Linked DNA regions of Homo sapiens: region 2 is linked to region 1. Evidence: promoter capture Hi-C in human tissues and cell types (Jung and others, 2019). All regions are on one chromosome and are shown on one strand. The core of a region is centred on a gene start or on the middle of the fragment in contact, and the rest is flanking DNA. Distances in the headings are between cores, read along the strand shown.

Region 1 (4,755 bases), core at 639-3,138:
TATCTTAAAAGCGCTCTAAATGCATTTTTAAATTGAGTAAATATAGTTAAGTACTAAAACAACAAAATTCATTTGTCCTATACTAACATGTACTATAGCATATAGCTCAAAAAGTTAGTAGAATACTGGGAAATTGCAAGTAACTGTATGATGCCTATTGCTTTACCTGGGACAGCTGACCAAAAAATGTTTCAGGGGTATGTTAGAGCTAATTTCATTACAATTCCCGGTGACTAACACCACTGATAGAGACCATAAAAGAGAAGGTGGCTCTTTTGTCCTATGAATTATCAATTAGATCTGCTTCTGTGGTGAAATTTGTTAGCTGAAAATTGATGGCTGAAACCTTAGGATTTACCCCTGTCTTTAAGCTCCTACAGCGAGGTCTGTAGACCAGAAGCCTGTACTGAACTCACACCACAAGGGCAGCGCCAAAGACAAGATGCAAGCGCTGCAACAGCAAGTTATATAACAAAAGAGAACCGAGGACATCAGAACGTGCTCCAATGATACTTTGTATCTTCCTGGTGCGCAAAAATGTAAACCGGCCTTCCTTTATGGTTTACATTGTACCCCTGCACAACGGTTTGCTATCGCGTAATTTGGGAGGTGACACATATGAAATTTGAGGGTGTGATTAGTCTTTAAAATAATAGTTTTGGTATATATTTTAAGCACTTCTAGCGACCCCCCCAACACACAAACACACACACACACACGCGCACACACACACACACACACGAAGAAGATGCTAAGGTGGGCCACTGCCCCGGCTCTGGCCAGCCGCATTTAGAGGGGAAAAGGACAAATGGCGCTATTTCTTTAAGCTTGGTGGGGGGAAATCTAAGTTTGTTCTTTAAAAAGGGCGAAAGTTCGCTAGGACCACAGGGCCTTCGGCGAGAGCGCAGGCAGCTTCGTGTTGGCACCTTGGGGATCTTCTGGGCTGCCAGAAGCTCTGAGCTTGCAGTTGCACCTAAACCGCCGCTTTCGCTACTTATATTTGCGGTAATGTTAGGAAGCAAAGTATCATCAATCAGAGAATCTGGTAGCCATTCTCTCTCTTTGCCCTGTGTCCCAGCTTGTGATTCTTCTAAGTTCCATCTCCTTTGCTGCGTGCAGATCCTTGGCTTTGGGCGCGCTTCCTCTTCTGCACTTGGGCCACCGCGGGTTGGCCACCTGGGCTGAACTCATCCCATCCTTGCTTTCCCCCATCCCTATACCCAGCGGCGAGGGCAGCCTCACCAGCCCTTGCCCCGGAGGTGAATGTGTGCCTGGCTTTGACTGAGACAACTAGGACCCCAGAAGCCCAGTGACATCAGAAAAGAGGCTCCTGGGCACTAGCACTTCCCGCAATACGCTCCAGGGCTGTAGGTGCAAAACGGAGCTCTAACTTCCCTCCAGCTAATCGAGAGGAAAATACAGGGCGCGTCACAGTGGCCTCTCCCGCCTAGCCACGCGCAGTGAAATTTCCGGCAATCGGGCCAGCTAAGACACGGGATTTGCACCGCAGCCTCTCAGCTTCTGGAGCCGGAGCCGAGCGCTCCCGGCAGCTTCTCCAATTTCTCTCCTAAAGTGCGAAGGGAAAAGCCCCGTCTGCTCCACGACTGCAAGGCCGGCGGATCTGGGAGCCGCGCCCGGCTCCGGAGGACTCGGCGGGCCCGGGGCTCCCCGGCAGCGGCTCCTCTGCTAGGGGTTAACAGCAGCCCCCGCGGCCGGGCGGGCGCGGACGCTTCCTCTCCACCCGCCCGGGAACGTGGATACCGCGCCCGCAGGATGTTCGCCGGCTGGGACCGGCAGTCAGGAAACATGAGAAGGCCTCGCTATTCCTGTTCCCGGGCGGCGCGCGCCGGGCTGGGTAAATAAAGCCGAGACGACGGCGGTGGCGGTGGTGAGCGCGCTGGAGCCCGCGTGGAGAACATGCGGCGGGGATGGGAGTGCGCCTAGTCTCGAGGCGGGAGAGCCAGCCGCCCTGCAGCCGGCCGTCGGCCCCGCAGCCACAGGTACAGCCCCCGCGTCGCCGAGTCTCAGCCGGCTGCGGCGGAACGCCAGGCTCGCTCTGGCCCCTGCGCCCTGGGCGCCGGTGCTCTCCCGCCCTTCCCCCAACTTCCCTCCAAGGTCTGGTGGAGAGGCGCTCGGGTAGCGGCCAAGGCTGGCCCAAGGGTCTGCGCGGAGCTTGGGAGCCCACCTGGCCGCGCCTCCTTTGCTTTAAAATTATTCGCCGGCGTTGGGGGAGGGGGACACTTCTGCAGGGAGTGACCTCCCCGGCCACAGTCTGGAGTGAATCGGGGTAAGTGATTTGAGAAGAGGCGCGGGTGGCCGCGCGCGGGAGTCCTGGGAGGGTCAGCAAGTGTGGTTCACACGCCCCCGGACCCCTTGCGACAGGACAGCGCTCGGACCTTTGCCATCGCTTGCCTCTGAGCCTGCTGCCTGCAGACCTACAGCGCGCCGGGTGTCTGTGTCTGCGATCTCTGCGTGGGCTTGGGGCTGCCGGGGAAGTGTCCGAGGTGGCTAACCTCGTGATGACTTCGCTAGGAAAAACACGTCGTCGCATCTAGGAGGACGCGCTGGGGTGGCTCGGAGAAGGCCGGGCCGGGGAAGGGTGTCTTGTACAAATAAAGCAGCATGAACACACATCCCTAAGGGCATGATTTTAAAAGAAAACACCAACGCGAGTCTTGACTGTAGAACAGGGGCTGCAAGCACGAAAATTCTCTTTGACACTTATCACCGAGGCTATGTGCACACCCCAGGCACGTACCTGTCTGCGCGGGAGGACGCAGTCCTAGGGGACACACGACATCCAGCAGAGGTCTGACTTCACTTCCCTACGAACACAGACCGTAGCCGTCGTTTGATCGCGGTGGTCACGCGTGGTCCTAAATGTCACGCGTGGCCTCTGCTGCGGTGGCCGAAGGGCGGGGCGGGGGCGTTGGCGAGTGTGGGCGCTTGGCGAGGCAAAGGGTGTGTGTGTGTGTGTGTGTGTGTGTGTGTGTGTATGCGCGCGCGCGTGTGTTAGTGGAGTAGCAGCCCATGCCGCGGCTGGACGGGCAAAGGGGGCGCTGGCAGCGAAGCTGAGGCCGCTCGGAGGAAACGGGAGCTGTCCCGAGGCGCGAGGCGAGGAGATGGGGCGGGCGAAGTCCGCCGCGCGCCTTGGGGCTGTAACTCTGCGGCTCCGCGGCCGCGCGGACTTGCTCCTGACGCCGGTGCGCGGCAGGCAGAGGCTCAGGGCCTCCGCGACCCCAGAGGTGAGCTGCTGGCTCTCCCCGACAGTGGCAGCAGTGGCCCGGGAGGTGCGCCGACCAAGCTGCCTCCTGCCTTGGGCTTCTGACACCTTTACAGCCTCTGAAAGGGTCCCCGGAGACCCCAGAGAGAGGCGGGTGTCGAGGGGCTACGAGCTCGCGGCTGACACCCGCGCTGCGGAAGAGAATGGCACTGATTGAGGGCTCTGGGGACCTGGGTCCTGGCGCCTTGGACCTTAGGACCATGCACTTCCCGGGGCGCGTTGGGGGATGATAGGAAGATTCTGGGAGAGAAGGGGGAGAAGTGGTGCTTTCGTCCTGACGCCACTTAACTTTTTCCTGTCCTTGAACCCAACCTCACCCCGGGGGACCTTGGCGGACAGAAGATGCGGGGGTTTCAACCAAACCATCCACGATCTAGAAAACACGAAAATCCCCCAAATCCCGGTATGGCCTGGGACTCATGAGCTGGGGGGTCTTGTGGATACGGTTGGCACATTACCCCAAATCTTCCCTTCCATCCAACCCCTCCTGACGCCCCGAGTTGGGGTTCCTAGAGGCTTTAGTCTTCTGCTGTGATTGAAGAACCACGCGCGGCCTCACGCCGGTCGCGCTCCGCAGTCCGGAGTATGCCTCTCCCAGATTCAAACTGAAACCCAGAGGCTCGTTTGGGAATTCGTTTCCTTTGCCTCTGCGGGTGAATGATTCCCGGTTGTAGTTCTGGGGAGTGAAGGGATTGGGGGGATCGATCGCCCAGGCAAGGAAGAGGGCAGGTACCTGTCCGGGGAACCTGCAGGGGCGGGGGCGTGTAGCCAACTGGGGAGAGCCGCAGGGTCCCTGCCAGTTGCGGCGGCGCCGCTCCTCCCCTCGGCTCCGCAGCCCGGCGACCCGGCCAAGTTCAAGGCCCTGAACCTGCAGGGGTCTGAGCACTCTCAGCCAGTAAGTAACGAGATGCACCTTCCTCTCCTAGAAGCCGAGCCCCGCTGCGGAGCTCCCGGCGGCCCAGCCCCGAGGCTCTGCGGCCGCGCCGCGCGTCCCTACCAACCGACACCATGAACACCATCGTCTTCAACAAGCTCAGCGGTGCGGTGCTGTTTGAGGACGGAGGCGCCTCGGAGCGGGAGCGGGGTGGCCGGCCCTACAGCGGTGTCCTGGACAGTCCTCACGCCCGCCCCGAGGTGGGCATTCCCGACGGCCCGCCCCTCAAGGACAACCTCGGCCTGAGACACCGGAGGACCGGGTATGCGCACTCCCCTGGGGGCCCTGCCCGCCTGCGGCCCGGAGGGGTGGGGGTGGTGAGCTGTGACGGGGTCCCGTGGCAACGCGGGCGGGTGGACGGGAAAGGGCCCGGAGTTCCCTGGGAGTGCAGGTCTGCCCCTCCAGGGCTCGCGCATTCTCATGTTAAGGGGCTCCTATCTTAAAACATGAGGGATCAATTCGTCGGGGCAGCTCCAAAGAGCTTGGTGGAGACTAAGGGCGCCAGGAGCTGCCCCTCGGCCCTCCGCTGCCTGGACCT
Region 2 (4,755 bases), core at 1,684-4,183, 170 kb after region 1:
AATATCTCTCGTCATTATCCTTTTTGATAAAAGTGAAAAGAGGATGTCTTTATTATTGATATGCTTCATTCTTCACCGTTGTCCCAAATCCCACCAGGTTTTAAAAATAGTATAGGTCTTAGAAATCTACTCTATATACATCCTTATCTTTCTCTAGTCAACTTAGAATGTTTAGCGTGTGGGAAAATTTCCCTTTCGTCTCTAATAGAATTCAGATATTAATAATGTTAATATTTTCCCCCTCCAAATCTTATGTTGAAATGTGATCCCAAGTGTTGGAGGTGGGGCTTAGTGGGAGGTCATGGGGGCAGATCCCTCATGAATGGCTTGGTGCCCTCCCCACAGTCATAAGTTCACATAAGATCTGGTAGTTAAAGATTCTGGAACTTCTTGCACCCTCTGTCTTGCCTCCTCTCTTAAGGTGTGCCACATCCAGCTCCTCTTGCCTTCCACTATGACTGTACGTGTCCTGAGGCCCGCATTAAAAACTGATGCTGGCACCATGCTTCTTGTGCAGCCTGCAGAACCATGAGTCAAATAAGCCTATTTTCCTTGTAAAATTACCCAGTCTCTGCTATTCCTTCATAGCAGTGCAAAATGGACTCATATATCCTTTATAAGACTAATTGCCTCTAAAATCTCCTGCTCCCTTGAAATCACACACAGGTTGGCTAAAAAGCCACATGCTATTCTTTTCCAGACATTTGTAGTCTATGTTTCTATGCTGCGTAAGAAATTACTGCAAACATGGGAGCTTGAATCAGCACACAATTATTACCTCAGAGTTTCTGCAGGTCACACATCTGGATACGGCATAGCTTGGTCCTCCTCAGAAGGTCTTACAAGGCTACATTCAAGGTGTTGGCCAGGACTGGCTCTCAACTGGAGGCTCAGCTAGGGAAGGATTTGCTTCCCAATTCCTTTTGGCAGCAATGAGCTCCATGTGGCTTTAGGAGTTCTGGCAGCTTGCTTCTTCACAGCCAGCAAGGGAGAGAGAACGTCTGTGGAGCCAGCCAGCTAGCAAGACACAGTCATATAACATCACATAATCATGGGAGTGACGTGCCATTCCATTTGTCATATTCTGTTGTTTAGGAGCAAGTCATGGGTCTGGTCTACACCTAAGAAGAAAACAATTACACAAAGGCCTGAATACCAACAGGAAGGGGTCGTGGGACCACCTTTAAGTTTATCTGCCACACCACTACTACGTCAATCCCATAAAATTTCATCTCCCCCAAGCCAATGGACCTACCTCCCAGACCTCCTGATGTTTGGTAGAAGATAACTCTCAGCAGGCTAGAAACATTTGGGGATTTTCATTCAGTAACTGACAAGGAGTGACTGCTTTCTACTTTGATTTAATTATAATATGTCAAAAATTAAATGTCCAGGGATTATTAGGATTTAAGTTTGGATGTATGCAATGGAGACATGAAATAAAGTGACTTAAACCAAACTGAGTTTTATTCCTTTCTTGCAGAAGAGTCCAGAATTAAGCCACTCAAGGGGCTCTATTCCTCGGAGTTACCAGGGACCATGGCTGTTTCTATCTTGTTGCTCTGCTATCCATACAGCATTGTCCTCATGACGTGGTCCAAGACGGTTTGCTGTCAGGTTTATATTTTAGTAGGATACAGGAAGGGAGGAAGGCACATACTGGAAATTTTGTGCACTACTTGCCCTTGAATCTTTTTGACAAATATCACTTATGTAGAAGTACCTACCAAGGGAGACTAAACCATGTAGACTTTATTCCGAGTAGTCATGTCTTTGGCCAAAAGATCAGAGATTCTCTCACCAAAGGAAAATAAATCAGGAGAAATAGAAACCAGAAGACAACCAGGATTAGTGAACTCCACGAAAGTAATTATTTTTTATTTTATTTTATTTTGTTTATTCATTTACTTATTTATTTTGTACAGATGGGGTCTCACTGTTGCCAGGCTGGTCTTGAACTCCTGGCCTCAAGTAATCTTCCTGCCTTGGCCTCCCAAAGTGCTGGGATTCCAGGCAGGAGCCACCACAATCTGCTTAACGTGAATCTCTTTTTTTTTTTTTTTTTTTTTGAGATGGAGTTTTGCTCTTGTTGCCCAGGCTGGTGTGCAATGGCATGATCTCGGCTCACTGCAAACTCTGCCTCCCAGGTTCAAATGATTCTCTTACTTCAAACTCCCAAGTAGCTGAGATTACAGGCATGTGCCATCATGCCCAGCTAATTTTGTATTTTCAGTAGAGATGGAGTTTCATCATGTTGGCCAGGCTGGTCTCCAACTCCTGACGTCACATGATCTGCAGGCATGGCCTCCCAGAGTGCTGGGATTATAGAAGTGAGCCGCTGTGCCCGGCCCTAATGTGAATCTTAACTCCACTTAGGAATCATTTTTCTCCCGGTTTTCCCCTCAGTTAGCTAAAAGAAATCCTTTTATTGAAATATCACCAGACCTACTACATGGCCCAATCAAATTGTGCTCCCTAAAATGAAGTATTTTAAGAACAAAATAAAATATTTTATTTTAAAATAAAAATTTTAAAGGCATTCATTTATTGGACAACAGGGTCAAAGGAAAACGCAAAATGTGTGCCACGATGCTGATCGCAGTTTAATATTTTGGGTTTTCCCACATCCTTTTGGCTTCAGAATTAGGACCTGCCCTTCCCACGTCTCTCCCCTCCATTGTGCTTTCATTGGAAACAGGGATTTACTTCTCTTTGGTTATTCTGAGACCTACAGAGAATAGGACTGGGACCTATTTTGAGAAGTAAAATAAAATAATATTATGAACTGAAATGCTTTTGTGGTCCACTTAGCAGTGATTGGGCAAGAATTTCATCTTAATTTTTTTGTAGTGCTTATGATTTGAGTGCATTTTGGACACATGTTACATTTGCATGGCTCTCCAGGTGACATAATTACAAATTCCTGAACGCTTGATTCTTGGTTGCTCTATGCACCTGCAGAGGAGCCCTAAAGTCATGTGGGAATATAGACGTGTAACATAACAAAGGTATTGAGATACAACCCTAAAAGTTGATAGTGGTTTGCTCTGAGTAGAGGGATGGGGCAGAATTGGAATAAGTGGAGGAGGTCTCATGTGGAAGGCTAAATAATGCCCCCCACAAGAATGTCCACATTCGAATCCCCAGAACCTGTGAATATATTATCTTATGTGGCAAAAGTGACTTTATAGATATAATTAAGTTAAGGATCTTGAGCTGGGGAGAGACTCTTTGGGTGGGCTCTAAATGTAATCACAAGGATCCTTATAAGAGGTAGGCAGAGGGAGATTTTACAAGGAAGAGAAAGTGAGGTGACACTGAGATCAGAGGTAGGAGAGGTGATGTGGTGTGACCACAAGCCAAGGAATGAGGATATCCCGCAAAAGATGAAAAAGCCAAGGAAATGGATTCTCCCCAAAGTCCCCAGTGAGTGCTGCCTGATTGACTTTCTGATTTTGGCCCAGGGAACTCCATTAAAGACTAATGGCCTTCAGAATTGTAAAAAGAATGAATCCAAGTTGCTTTAAGCCACCAGGTTTATGGTAATTTATATGGTGACTAAAGAAGTCACCAGATAATAGAAAAATGGTAGAAAAGAAGCATTTCTTCTATCGCTGCCTCTTATAGAATTTAGCTTCTCCATGATCTCCATCAATAGGGAACTAATATAGTTTAACTTTTTACCTTGATCCCTCCTAAATGTTTGAGTTTTTTTATAACAAGTATATATTATTTTTATAATTAAAAAGTAATAAAGAGGAAAAATGATAATTTCTCATCATTAAAATGATTATTTTAGCTTGTGAATTTTTTAAACATGTGTATTACATGTCCAAAACTAATTTTAAAATGACCTGAAAGATGCAGATTTACATTGTTGTCTCTTGATCATTCCATAGTCTGAGTCGTACAGGTGGATATGAGTATCATGGGGGCCAACCAGCGCTGGAATTTTGCCTTTGGCAACTTTATTTCTGTTTTTGATGTTATTGTATGTTTTTAGCTTGTTTGGTTTCCTGTAATGATGTTTCTGCTGCCATTATAGCATGCTGGTGGTGTATGATGGTCTACCAAGAAGAGAGGACTATGATTTCAATTGTTTCTCTGCATTAACCAGCCACCAAGAATTTCAATGACTTTTTAAAACCAGGGCCAGGCATGGTGGCTCATGCCTGTAATTCCAGCACTTGGGGAGGCTGAGGCAGGAGGATCAGTTGAGGTCAGGAGTTTAAGACCAGCCTGGGCAATATAGCAAGACCTCGTCTCTTTAAAAATGTTTTAAATTACCTGGGCCTAGGGGTGAATGCCTGTAGTCCTAGATACTCTGGAGGCTGAGGTGGGAAGATTGTTTGAGCCCAGGAGTTCCAGGCTGTAGTAAGCTATGATTGTGCCACTACACTCCAGCCTGAGCAATAGAGCAAGGCCTTGTTCATAAAAAATAAAAATAATGAAAAGTTTCAGATTAAAAAAATTGTAGTGAATATAGGCTTTCATTTGATAAGGGTATTCATAACTTTCCTCCTAGTTTTTCCCTTTGCTACTGCTAGTTCAAAGGTCTAGAAATAGCCCCAAGTAAATCTCATCTAGTTTCTTTCCTGGTCTATTTCTTATCTTAACGACTCAGCCCCTGAAGACTGGGGACATCCCCTAGTACTAAACAGCCCCATGCTTCAAAGAAGTCACCAGATAATAGAAAAATGGTAGAAAAGAAGCATTTGTTTTTCCTTCTATCACTGCCTCTTACACACTTTAGCT

What was found. The method cuts DNA at HindIII sites, captures the fragments that hold promoters and counts their contacts. A contact is called where the count stands out against the background at its distance.
Region 2: a contact is called between a fragment that was not itself captured here and the fragment with the promoter of MKX in region 1, in 2 of the 25 tissues and cell types used here (neural progenitor cells and spleen).

What each region holds. Positions count from the first base shown.
Region 1 is chr10:27,742,952-27,747,706 of GRCh38, reverse strand. MKX (mohawk homeobox) reads left to right here and starts at 1,888. Exons shown (of 7, transcript NM_173576.3): 1 at 1,888-2,000; 2 at 4,210-4,479. The coding sequence starts at 4,292. It overlaps MKX-AS1 (MKX antisense RNA 1), which reads right to left and starts at 3,092. Exons shown (of 2, transcript NR_121652.1): 1 at 2,759-3,092. RefSeq lists enhancers at 1,807-2,397, 4,748-4,755. The HindIII fragment of the contact is 9,708 bases long and covers 195-4,755 here.
Region 2 is chr10:27,574,737-27,579,491 of GRCh38, reverse strand. LINC02680 (long intergenic non-protein coding RNA 2680) reads right to left here. Exons shown (of 3, transcript XR_007062094.1): 3 at 1-1,121. Among named protein-coding and RNA genes, the nearest start is that of LINC02680, 11 kb to the right of the region's middle. The HindIII fragment of the contact is 7,453 bases long and covers 1-4,755 here.